3 separate regions of the Homo sapiens genome follow, and all the other regions are linked to region 1. Evidence: promoter capture Hi-C in 16 types of primary human blood cells and fetal thymus (Javierre and others, 2016). All regions are on one chromosome and are shown on one strand. The core of a region is centred on a gene start or on the middle of the fragment in contact, and the rest is flanking DNA. Distances in the headings are between cores, read along the strand shown. Region 1 holds the start of OTUD5 (OTU deubiquitinase 5). Region 2 holds the start of SYP-AS1 (SYP antisense RNA 1). Region 3 overlaps SUV39H1 (SUV39H1 histone lysine methyltransferase).

The links. Contacts are between HindIII fragments. The CHiCAGO score rates a contact against its expected background, and 5 or more counts as called.
Region 2: the fragment with the promoter of SYP-AS1 here is called in contact with the fragment with the promoter of OTUD5 in region 1 in 7 of 17 cell types (naive CD4 T cells, non-activated CD4 T cells, monocytes and 4 more); the score reaches 7.9 in naive CD4 T cells.
Region 3: a fragment that was not itself captured here is called in contact with the fragment with the promoter of OTUD5 in region 1 in 1 of 17 cell types (non-activated CD4 T cells); the score reaches 5.6 in non-activated CD4 T cells.

Annotation. Positions count from the first base shown.
Region 1 is chrX:48,956,043-48,959,819 of GRCh38, forward strand. It overlaps OTUD5 (OTU deubiquitinase 5), which reads right to left and starts at 1,565. Exons shown (of 9, transcript NM_001136157.2): 1 at 935-1,565. The coding sequence starts at 1,528. It also overlaps the pseudogene RNU6-722P. RefSeq lists silencers at 1,182-1,241, 1,612-1,661, 1,862-2,021 and an enhancer at 2,122-2,311. The HindIII fragment of the contact is 4,109 bases long and covers 240-3,777 here.
Region 2 is chrX:49,197,359-49,200,851 of GRCh38, forward strand. It overlaps SYP-AS1 (SYP antisense RNA 1), which reads left to right and starts at 1,481. Exons shown (of 2, transcript NR_046649.1): 1 at 1,481-1,866. SYP (synaptophysin) reads right to left here and starts at 2,835. Exons shown (of 7, transcript NM_003179.3): 1 at 2,793-2,835; 2 at 1,610-1,675; 3 at 357-481. The coding sequence starts at 2,828. RefSeq lists silencers at 2,668-2,717, 2,788-3,027. The HindIII fragment of the contact is 12,908 bases long and covers 1-3,493 here.
Region 3 is chrX:48,700,050-48,703,495 of GRCh38, forward strand. It overlaps SUV39H1 (SUV39H1 histone lysine methyltransferase), which reads left to right. Exons shown (of 6, transcript NM_003173.4): 3 at 42-704. Among named protein-coding and RNA genes, the nearest start is that of SUV39H1, 5.0 kb to the left of the region's middle. The HindIII fragment of the contact is 3,918 bases long and covers 213-3,446 here.

The DNA.
Region 1 (3,777 bases), core at 315-2,814:
AGGCCCCTGGTGGGGGTGCTGAGGGCCCATCTCTTCTTACAAGAAGCTTAAGATCCTGAAGCGGTTCAGGCCCTTGTCTCCCAAGAGGTAGGTCTCAGGCCACTGATAGGAAATGCAGACCTTTGTCACTCAGAAAGGAGATAAGTAAAGCTGCTGGTCATTGGGTGTTGGTTTTGGTCCCTGTCCCCAAGGGCAAGGGAATCATATCTCCCTGTGAAAAGTCTTACATCCCTGGAAAAAGCTTAGAAGATCCCTATCCTTAAAGGGGGCGTGTGTGTGTGTGTGTGTGTCAGGACCTTGATTCTAGAAGCAGGACTCTCAGGCCCCTGAAGACAGACTTAGGACCCTTGAGGTCTCAGGTCTGGCTATTCAGTGGTCCTGTGCAGTGTTACCCAGCGAAGCGGGAGAGGATTGTCCTATATGCAGAGTGTCTCAGACTCTTGAAAGGGCTTAGGCTCCTTGGGGATGTTCAGCCCCGATCTCCGAGGTCTCCACCTTATTTGACTTTCCTGGAAGGGGAATCTCAAACTTCTATCCCAGAGGAAAAGAGCTCTTAAGCCACTGAACACATACCTAAGTCTCTTGGGAGACCTGAGACTCCTACTCAAGAGGGGCGCGATCCTACCTGTATCTCTTGGAGAATTCCCACCTATTGGCCCTATATGATGAGGTCCCAGGGACTGGAATGACGACTATAGACCTTAAAAGAGACCTCGGATCTTTAAGTCTGACACCTTACCGTAGGCCTCTAGCCCCAAAATCCTGGAGGGGAGGAAAGAAGGTGTCTCACATCCCTACCGCCAGAGAAGACTGTCAGGCCCAGTGAAAACGCCTAGATCCCTTGGGGCGATCTCAAACAGCCTTCCTTGAGTCCCTTCACAGTCTGGGGGTCCCATCTGCCGTGGCCGCTCACCCCTCACCCCACAGCTCTTACCTGCTCGACAGTGGCAGGGTCCATAGCCTCGATGCGTGCTGCAGCCGCCTCATACTCGTCCTCACTGTTGTAGCCTGCGCCGACCTCCTCACGCTCGGGACTGCCCCCGCCAACCGCGCCAACCCCGGGAGCTTGACGTCGCCGCTTGCTGTGCCCAGGCCCGGAGCAGCAGCCGCCCACGCCTACGGCACCACCCACACCCACCACCACGCCCGCGGCACCCACACCCGCCGCCGCTGCGCCCAGCGCGTCGCCGGGACCGCCGCCGGGACCACCTGGGCCCCCGCAAGGAGGTGGAGAAGCCTGTTGTGGCCGGGGACCCGCCACTGCACCAGGCGGCACGGCCAGCGCCCAGCGATGAAGAGCGCCCGGCGGTCCTGGTAGCGGGCCTTGAGGCGGTGGCGAAGCTCGCGGACGGGCCCCCACGACGCCGGAGTCACGGTCGCGATCGCCGCCGCCCACGCCCGTGCCGCCGCCGCCCACGCCCACACCTCCGCCGCGCCGCGGCGCCGGGGGCATCGGCCCGGGCGGCGGCGGCTCGTTGGCGGGGTCGGCGTCGGGAGGCGGCGGCTTCTTTTTGGGGAGTATAGTCATGGCTGCACTGCCGAGTACCCCCCAACAAACCCGGCGCGGGGCACGCCGGGAGAGAACCCGGATGAGGGGGCTAGTGTAGTGCGCGAGGCACGACGGGAACGGCGAGACCCGGATAAAGGGATCGCGGCACCGGTTCGAGAACCCTCGGCGGCGGAGGAGGCGGCGGCGGCGGCGGCGGCGGTGGCGGCGCGCGGGTCACGCCGAGAGGAGAACCCGGATGTAAAGTCCAAGATGAAGGCAGTGCGGCGAGTTTGTCTTAGCCTTCTCTCCAAGTCCAGCAAGTTTATTGCTACGCTTGTTCCGGCCTTCTGCTTCAAAGGAAACAGAACCAAAACAAGCACCTCTTCGCTCCGCCCCCTCGCAGGTTCTTGCACTACCGGGTGGGGCCCCGGGGCGCTGCGCACGCGCGCCAGGGCACAGCCCCGCCCCTTACTCGGAAGTACGTGGGCAAAATCGCCGCCGCCGCCGCCACAACAATTGCAACACCAACCAATTGAGCAGCTGCGTGGGACCTCGACGACGCCCACGGGCCAATCACAGGCGAGTGCTCGCCCTCCGGTGCCCTCCGTCTCAAATTTCAGTCAAAGTCGACACCCTGGTTCCCAGCCTTTCTCCCCGTCAGTTCCGTCTTGCTCTTCACTTTTCTCCCCGAAGCTCTGACCTGCAGGCGTCGGTACTGCGGACGGACAGCGTGGCCTGTCCCACGTACGACAGGAAAAACACCTCCCCTCCAGGATTCCAACTTGAACGCTGTCAGCCGGAATGACTGGAAAACATCAACACTCCCGGGAGCATAGCTGGCCCCTGTAGCGTCACTTCCGGTCCCACCCACCTACAAATACCCTTCCGGGGGAGGCGGACACCGCTTCGCCCCGGCAACAGCCTGAGTTCTGCGGTGATTGGTTAAGAGACGCCGTCACTCGCGGCATACCGACCAACCTTGGGACAGACAGGCGCCGTGGGGACAGTGGTTGTTTGGGAAACAGACACGCCTTCTCTGGCACCACAGCACTCTCGGCCTCGCGTTGACCTCCCCGCCCCTATGGCTAGTGCGCAGGCGCGGCCCAGCCTTTTTTTTTTTTTTTTTTTTTTTTTTTCCTAATTGAGACAGGGGTCTCACTCTGTCGCCCAGGTTGGAATGCAGTGGCGCGATCATAGCTCACTGCAAACTCCAACTCCCAGGTTCAAGCGATCCTCCCGCCTCAGCCTCCCGAATAGCTGGGACCACAGGCGCGCACCACTACGACCGGCTAATTTTTTTTTCACTTTTTTGTAGGGACAAAGTCTCACTATGTTGCCCAGGCTGATCTCCAGCTCCCGGGCTCAAGCGATCCTCCCGCCTCGGCTTCCCAGAGTGCTGGGATTACAGGCGTTAGTCACCGCGCCTGGCCAAGCCCAGCCTTTTTCTAAAACTGAGTTTGCTTGGGTCGATCGAGGTTTATGAAAGCTCTGTCACCAGTCAGCGTCTCAAAATGGGGTTGGCAGAATCCCTGCTATTGAGTAGCTGGAGAGCTACACGCTAATCCTAGCTCTGCCCTTCCTGTCTGAGTGATCTTTGTCAGTCATTTAAAACCCACCCCGTCCTCAATTTTTGTTGTTGTTGTTTACTTTTTTATAGAACGCTTCACGTATTTGCGTGTCATCCTTTCGCATAGTGCCATGCTAATCTCTGTATCGTTCTAATTTTAGTATATGTGGTGCGAAGTGAGCACCCATCCTTAATTTCTATTCTATAAATTGGCAATAATTCTAATCCGAGGATCAGAGATTAATGCTTGTGAAGGGCCTGGTGCTGTGCCCAGCACATAGGAAGTGTTCAATAAAGTAGTCTGCATGGTGGTGCAGTGGAAGGATCCCAGGCTTTGGAGCCAGAAAGACCTCAGTTCCAGGCACAGATGGACCATTACCAACTGTATGACCTTGAGCAAGTCATTGTGTCACTTTTGAGATTACCCATGTGTAAAACAGGAATGATAATACCTGCCCAGACTACCTCAGGGAATGGTTATGGGGTTCAGATGAGCTGATGAACCAAGAAGGTATTTGGAGTTCACTTCCAGTCTTAGGAGACAAACCATACAACAGGTTGACTGAAAGAGACCATGGGAAAGCTGTTTTGAGTATAGCCTTGCCTCCCTTGAGATACTAACCCTAGTTGAAATTCTTCCCTGAAAGGTGTAAGTAATAAATGGGCTCTAAGTAGTGTTTTCTGCTCATGAGACTTAATAGGAGGGGACTTTCACGTTTAC
Region 2 (3,493 bases), core at 231-2,730, 240 kb after region 1:
ATGTGTATAGAATGAATGAATGGGGATTAAATAATAATATTGGCTAACATTAATTGGGTACCTACTGGGTTAAGGTATGTATATACACCTGTCTTACTTTTGTATCTTGTTTATTGCCTGTCCCTTACCCCTTCGCTGGAACAGAGCCAGAGGGCCACAGCCTATGTCTGCCTTGCTCACCACATAGTCCTAGAGTCCAGAGCAGTGCCAGGTACAAGGCAGGTGCTCAGTGATCCCAGTGGATGTAGCCTCGAGGTGGGAGCTGGGCAGGAGCTACTTGCGGGGGGAGGTATTGGCCGGTTCCACCCTGCCCCTTCCTCTCCCAGGTCTGTTGGTATCCCAGGGTGGGAGCACACCTGAAGGGGTACTCGAACTCGACCTCGATGCTGAGGTCACTCTCGGTCTTGTTGGCACAATCCACGCTCAGCTGGAGCTCCCCACTGTAGCTGCCGCATGTGGCAAAGGCGAAGATGGCGAAGACCTTGGGCAGCAGGGATGGGGATGGCCACAGTGAACCTGTGTGCATGTGGGAGGGAGGTGCCCTCCTCTGGACAGATCGGGGGCCCAGCACAGGCAGCAGCAGATGGAGCAGTCCCCACCCCCACCCCCTAATCAGGGCTCATCGGGACCAAGGACAAGCTGATTACAAGGGTATGGCTGTCTCTTCCTGTTTCTCTCTCTGTGTCTCTCTCTGTCTCTGCCTTTCCATGCTGACCTCCCTCTTCTCTGTTTGTCTCTGTTGTTCTCTGTGTATCTCACTGTGTCTCTGTTTCTCTCGGTATCTCTGTTTCTCTATGTGTCTTTGTCTTTCTCAGATGTCTCTTTGTCTCTCTGTGTCTCTGATCCTCTCTGCCTCTGCCTATCTGATCTGTCGATGTCTCTTTTTGTCTCTTTTTTCTCTGTCTGTGTAAGTGTATGCCTGTATGTCTGTGTCTTTCTGTTTCTTGGTCTGTTTGTCTCTGTCTCTCTGTCCTGTCTCTCACTCGGTCTCCGGATGGTTCTCTCTCTGTCTCCCTCTTGCCTCTGTGTGTTGGTTTCTCTTTTTTCTGAGTGTCTCTTTCTCTCTGTGTCTCTCTCTCCCTCACCCTGTTTTCCTGCCTCTCTCCCTGCGTCTGTTTCTCTTTGCATCTGTTTTCTGTGTCTCCTTTTTCTTTGTTTCTGTTTGTCTCTTCTCTCTTATGTCTGTATCTCTTCTCATCTCCATATTTCTTTTTTTTTTCTCAGTATTTCCATCTCTGTCTTTATCATTCCCTGTCCCTCATTCTCTCTGTCACCTTCACTGTCTCTGGGTTTCTCTGACTTTGCATCTCTCACCCAGCATCTGCTACAGGCTCCACCTCCCCCACCCCTCCCTCACTTCAAGAGAGGAGGTAGGACGTCACAGTCTCCCACTTCACAACGGGGGTACCCTCAGCCCTATGTGACGTCACAGCTCATCTGTTTTCTGGCTTCAGACCCCTGAAACCTCACCCTGGAGCCCAATTCCCCCATCCCCTACAACCCCCGCACTCATCCCTGGCTACTCGCCCCTACTCCACCCCTGCTCTTCTGGACCCCATGACCTCCCTCTCTCCCTGCACTCTGCCCCAACAGCCCGGACCACACTCACCCATTGCAGCACCTTCACAAAGCCGAGGGGCTCCTTGACCACCCGGAACTGACCCCCAGCCACCAGCTGAGGAGAGAAACAGTGGGGAAGGGGTGGGGTTGTTGGAGGTACAGGGAGGTGAGCGGCAAGGCTGCCCATCAATGACCCCAGGGGATGGAGCATGTGACCTCGGGGAGAGGGTGAGAAGGAGAAAGTGACACCTTGGGGATGGTGTGAGCCCCAGGGTCCAAGGACTGGTGGGAAGGTCTGAAGAGATGGTGAGTCAGATGGCAGAGGAAGTCGGGGGTGAGGGAGATGGGGATGAGGTCAGGACTAGTTAAGGAGGGGGAGCAGGTTTGAAACGTAAAGGCGAGTCGGATGGGGAAGGGGTTCGGGTAGAGAATGGGGATGGAGTGGGGTGCATTCGGGTGGGGGGGTTGTGATGGTGAAGGTGAGTCATAACGGGGCAGGAGTCGGTTTGGCTCAGGTGGGGGAAGGGTCTGCAGGGGTAAAGGTGTGTTAGACGGCGGTGGCGGTAGATATTTGAGGTGATGGGGATGGGGAAGGGTTGGGACTGATTGGGGGTGAGTTTCTGAGGTGGCAAAGACGAGAGACATGGCGGAGAGGGTCTGGACTGATTAAGGTGGGGGAGGGCTGGGACACGGCTTCAGTCGCTATGTGTTGGGGGTGAGGAGGCTGGGGGTTTTGGAAGGAGTAAAACCGGATTGTCCCCTAGGTGTGCTCTGGGGGAAGGGGTGGTCGCCTATGGGGGTACAGTCTCTGTTTGGGAGGGGCGGGTGCCAGCCCTCTCCCCCATCCCCGCCCCCACACCTTCTGTCGCTCTATTTCCTAGCTTATCCGCAGCACCCCCCATCTTCCTTCCACTCTCCCCTCCCCTTGTCCCTTGCCCTCACTCCAGCCCCCAGGCCCCTATTCCTCCCCTCGCGGTCGCCAGTAATAAACGGGGCTCCGGGGGCCCCCGCTGCGGCAGTGAGGACGGCCCTCGCTGCGGCAAAGAGCGCACTCCTTTTCTCCACCTCCCCCTTCCTCCCCTTCACCTGCCGCAGACCCCCATCCCCAGCGCCGGGGACCGGGTCTCCGCTGCCAGACCCTGGCCACCACCTCCCAGAGTCGGCTGGCCTGAGCGACCCGGCCTAGGCAGCCGGGCGGCGGCGGGCTCTGTCCACGGTGCTGGAGCGCGTACCTGATTCACCACGTCCATGTCCGCCAGCAGCAGCATCAGCAATGCAGGGGGCGGGAGGCTCGGCTAGCAAGGGCGGCGCGGGGCGCGGCGGGGGCGGCGCGCGCTCGTTGGAACAGCCCAGGCGGCTGCAGCCCCGCCCCTCGCGCCCCCTCCTTGCCCGCCACGCGCCTGCGCACAGCGGGTTGTACCACAGTCTCACCGGCAGCCATTCCGGCCCGGAGGCTGGAGCCGTGAGAGCGTGCGGGAATATGCGTTGGGAAAACACAAGTCGAGGGCCGGGGAGAGGAGACCTCCCTGCTCGGTCCTACAGTGTGACAACTTTGCCAGGCTCTTTTCTGAGTTTGTTAAACATGTTCACTCATTTAATGCTTACAGAAGTCCTACGTTGTAGGGACTATTAGGCCGTTTTTACAGACGAGGAAAATAATTCCCCAGAGAGCTTAAGTGACTCTCACAAGGTCAGCCAGCTACTAGCTGGCAGTGCCCAGAGTCCCTGCAGTTTAAACACGGTTCAAGGCCTTCCAGGTTCCTTTTTCATAGTCTGCATTTTAAGCACACCCTGAAACTCCTGCCCCCATCTAGCCATCTCCCTTATTTCTTTCTTCCTCTTTGTCAAATTAATGCCTACTCGAACTCTACCACTTTACCTATTTATTCCTTAGCTCTCTCTTAATTGGAATAACCCTCCTTCCTGCGACTAA
Region 3 (3,446 bases), core at 922-3,421, 260 kb before region 1:
ACTACTTACGGTACCCCCGTCCCCCTACCCACCCCCAACAGGAACAGGAATATTACCTGGTGAAATGGCGTGGATATCCAGACTCAGAGAGCACCTGGGAGCCACGGCAGAATCTCAAGTGTGTGCGTATCCTCAAGCAGTTCCACAAGGACTTAGAAAGGGAGCTGCTCCGGCGGCACCACCGGTCAAAGACCCCCCGGCACCTGGACCCAAGCTTGGCCAACTACCTGGTGCAGAAGGCCAAGCAGAGGCGGGCGCTCCGTCGCTGGGAGCAGGAGCTCAATGCCAAGCGCAGCCATCTGGGACGCATCACTGTAGAGAATGAGGTGGACCTGGACGGCCCTCCGCGGGCCTTCGTGTACATCAATGAGTACCGTGTTGGTGAGGGCATCACCCTCAACCAGGTGGCTGTGGGCTGCGAGTGCCAGGACTGTCTGTGGGCACCCACTGGAGGCTGCTGCCCGGGGGCGTCACTGCACAAGTTTGCCTACAATGACCAGGGCCAGGTGCGGCTTCGAGCCGGGCTGCCCATCTACGAGTGCAACTCCCGCTGCCGCTGCGGCTATGACTGCCCAAATCGTGTGGTACAGAAGGGTATCCGATATGACCTCTGCATCTTCCGCACGGATGATGGGCGTGGCTGGGGCGTCCGCACCCTGGAGAAGATTCGCAAGAACAGCTTCGTCATGGAGTACGTGGGAGAGGTAGGGAGATGGGACCCGGTGTGTGTGTGCAGCTCTTCCCACCCTGTGTTCACAGTGTGCACCCGGCTCTCCTCACTGTGTGTCTGAAACTCCCTGCTTTCCCTATGGGAAAGGCCTGGGAGACTGATCTGAGTGTCACAGGGACATTGGGCAGGGGCTAGTATTCCAAGCTGGTACACACCAGCATGGCCATGCTGGTGGTTACAGGAACACCAAAATACTTCTGCACTGGGTTGACTTTATCAGGGTACTTAGCAAAGAAGAAAAGTGGGAGCTGAGATCCAGGCAGCCTTAGCATTCCTTGTAACAGGCCATGTGGTCTGGCATAGGGCTGCATCAGCTGGAAAGGCACTTCCTCTTCTCATTTCACAAGGGCCCATCTTATCACCAAGCAGTATCTGCCTGAGGAGCATTGTTTTACCAGTCTGCACAGAAGGAACGCAGTCTGGAGTAGGATGAGACATGCCTTGGACAAAGGTTGGCTAACTCCTTTAGACTTTCAGGACACTGGGGAAGGCCGAGTGTATTAGGCAAGCCAGCCATTGTAAAAACAACCCCCTCATCTTAGTGACTTTGCACATTACAAGTTTGCTTGCTCATGGAACAGTCCATTGTGGGGGTTTGAGTGGGTATCCTTTCACACAGCAACTGGGACACCTAGGCTCTTTCCCTCCTGTGCCTTTGCTGTGCCTTGAAGCCTTGGAGTCACTACCAGATCCTCAGCATTGCCTGGCAGGCGGGCCAAGTGGGGGATAGAAGGGGCCCATCCTAGTGGGCCAGGCCTAGATGCAGCACCCATCACTTCTGCCCATGCTCCACTGGCTGGAACTGAGTCACTGGCCTTACCTCCATGCAAGAGAGGCAACAGGATGTGCTTTAGCCATGTGCCCAGCTGCACAAGGCTAAAGCACAGCCATAACTAGCAACTAGATAACTAGCAAGTATCTACAACAGAAAAATGTCGCATTCTAAGATGGGATGCAGTTAGCATTTGGGATGAGATGATTTTTCGTTATGTAGAACTGTCTCATGCATTGGGGGACATTTAGCATCCCTGGACCTTGACCATTTAAATCCATGAGTGTGCCCTGTCATAGTGACAACCCCAGATACCTCTATATATAGCCATAGGTCCCTTAGGGGTGTGATATAGTTGGAAAGTGACAGAAACTGGCCTGAGGAACACTCACATGAGGGTGTCCACACTGTAGCACTGATACTGATGACAAGGAGAGGCTCCTACTCTGAGAAACTGTACAGAGGGTCACATCTGACAGGGACAGAGACAATCTTGGGTAGAACAATCTACACCACAGAGGACCCTGACAGTCTGGGCAAGGAGACAGCCACACCCTGTCCAGATAACCCTGCTGGCCTGCTGGAGGAGATGTCTACATGCCACAGGACCTGGCCATCTGGAAGGAGGAGGTGGGGAGGTGTCCACACCCTGAGGGCTCCTGACAGTGGGCGGGGGAAGGAGTCCTGATAATCTGCAGGAAGTCCATGTCCCACAGTGACCCCAGTGACCTGGAGGAAGAGCTTGTGCTCTCCACACTCTAGAGGACCTGGTGGTCTGACTTAGGAAGTGTTCACACCCATGTTGTCATGACAGGAAAAAGAAGTGTCCTCACCCCAGAGGGATCCGGACAGCCTGGAGATCTAGTCTACACCCAAGGGCACCCTGACAGTATCGGGGGAAGTGTCCATGCCCTCAATGTCCTGACGCTCTGGAGGAAGTGTCCAGAGGTTGAAGGAACCCAAACTCTCTGGAGGAGATGTCCAGACCCCATAGGACCCAGACAGTCCACCGTCCTAGGGGCTGCACAGAGCAGGAAGTATCTCAGCCTCACTGTACTGGCATCTGGAGGAAACACTGTCTACCACACAGGGTCCTGACAGTCGAGGAGGAAGACTACACCCCAAGGGCAGCCTCAGACCCTCCTGGGCCTGAGACTTTTCTGGCTGCTCTTCCTTAGTGTCAGTGTCTTTAATCCTCCCAGGGATCCTCTCAGCCCTGTCCTCACCCTTCCTGCTCTCCACACATTCTTGCTGCACTATTTCCTGACCGCCCTCCAGCACCCTCAGACCCATGGGTCCTCCTGATGGTGCCACAGGCCTCCGGAAAGAGCCAAACTCATCTTCCCGCATTCCCCTCTGAAGAGACAGTATAGCAAATGGTTAGGAGGGTGGACTCTGGATCCTGACTGCCCGAGGCTGAATCCCAGCTCCACTACTCATCAGCAATCACTAACCTCTGTGCCTGCATTTACTATGTAAAATGGGAACAATAATAGCACTCACCTCACAGGCTTGTTACAAAAATTAAATGAGTTACTATGTATCAAGCACTTGGAAAAAGCACTTGAACAGTGTTCAGTACACAGTAAGTTTGATACAAATGTTATCAGCATAGTTCAAACTTCAGCAAATCCAAAATGTCTGGAAGACCAAGTTTTTTTGTAACCCATCTGGCTACAGGACCCAGCCTGACCGGATAGGGTCCTATTTGTAGTTTTTATTTATCCTACTTGGGGTAATAGTCATACATTTCGTTGCAGCAGTTCTAATTTACTTGATTCTGTAGTGCCGTCCCAGATGCTGCCAGGGTGTTACGGAATCAAGGGCCTATCTGCACACCATGCTATCTACTGTCCTTCTTCAGCTGGGACATGTACTGACAGTCTGTACCAAGAGCTCCCTCCACGGGAGCTGCCCTTCCCTCCTTTGCAGCCTCCCACATTG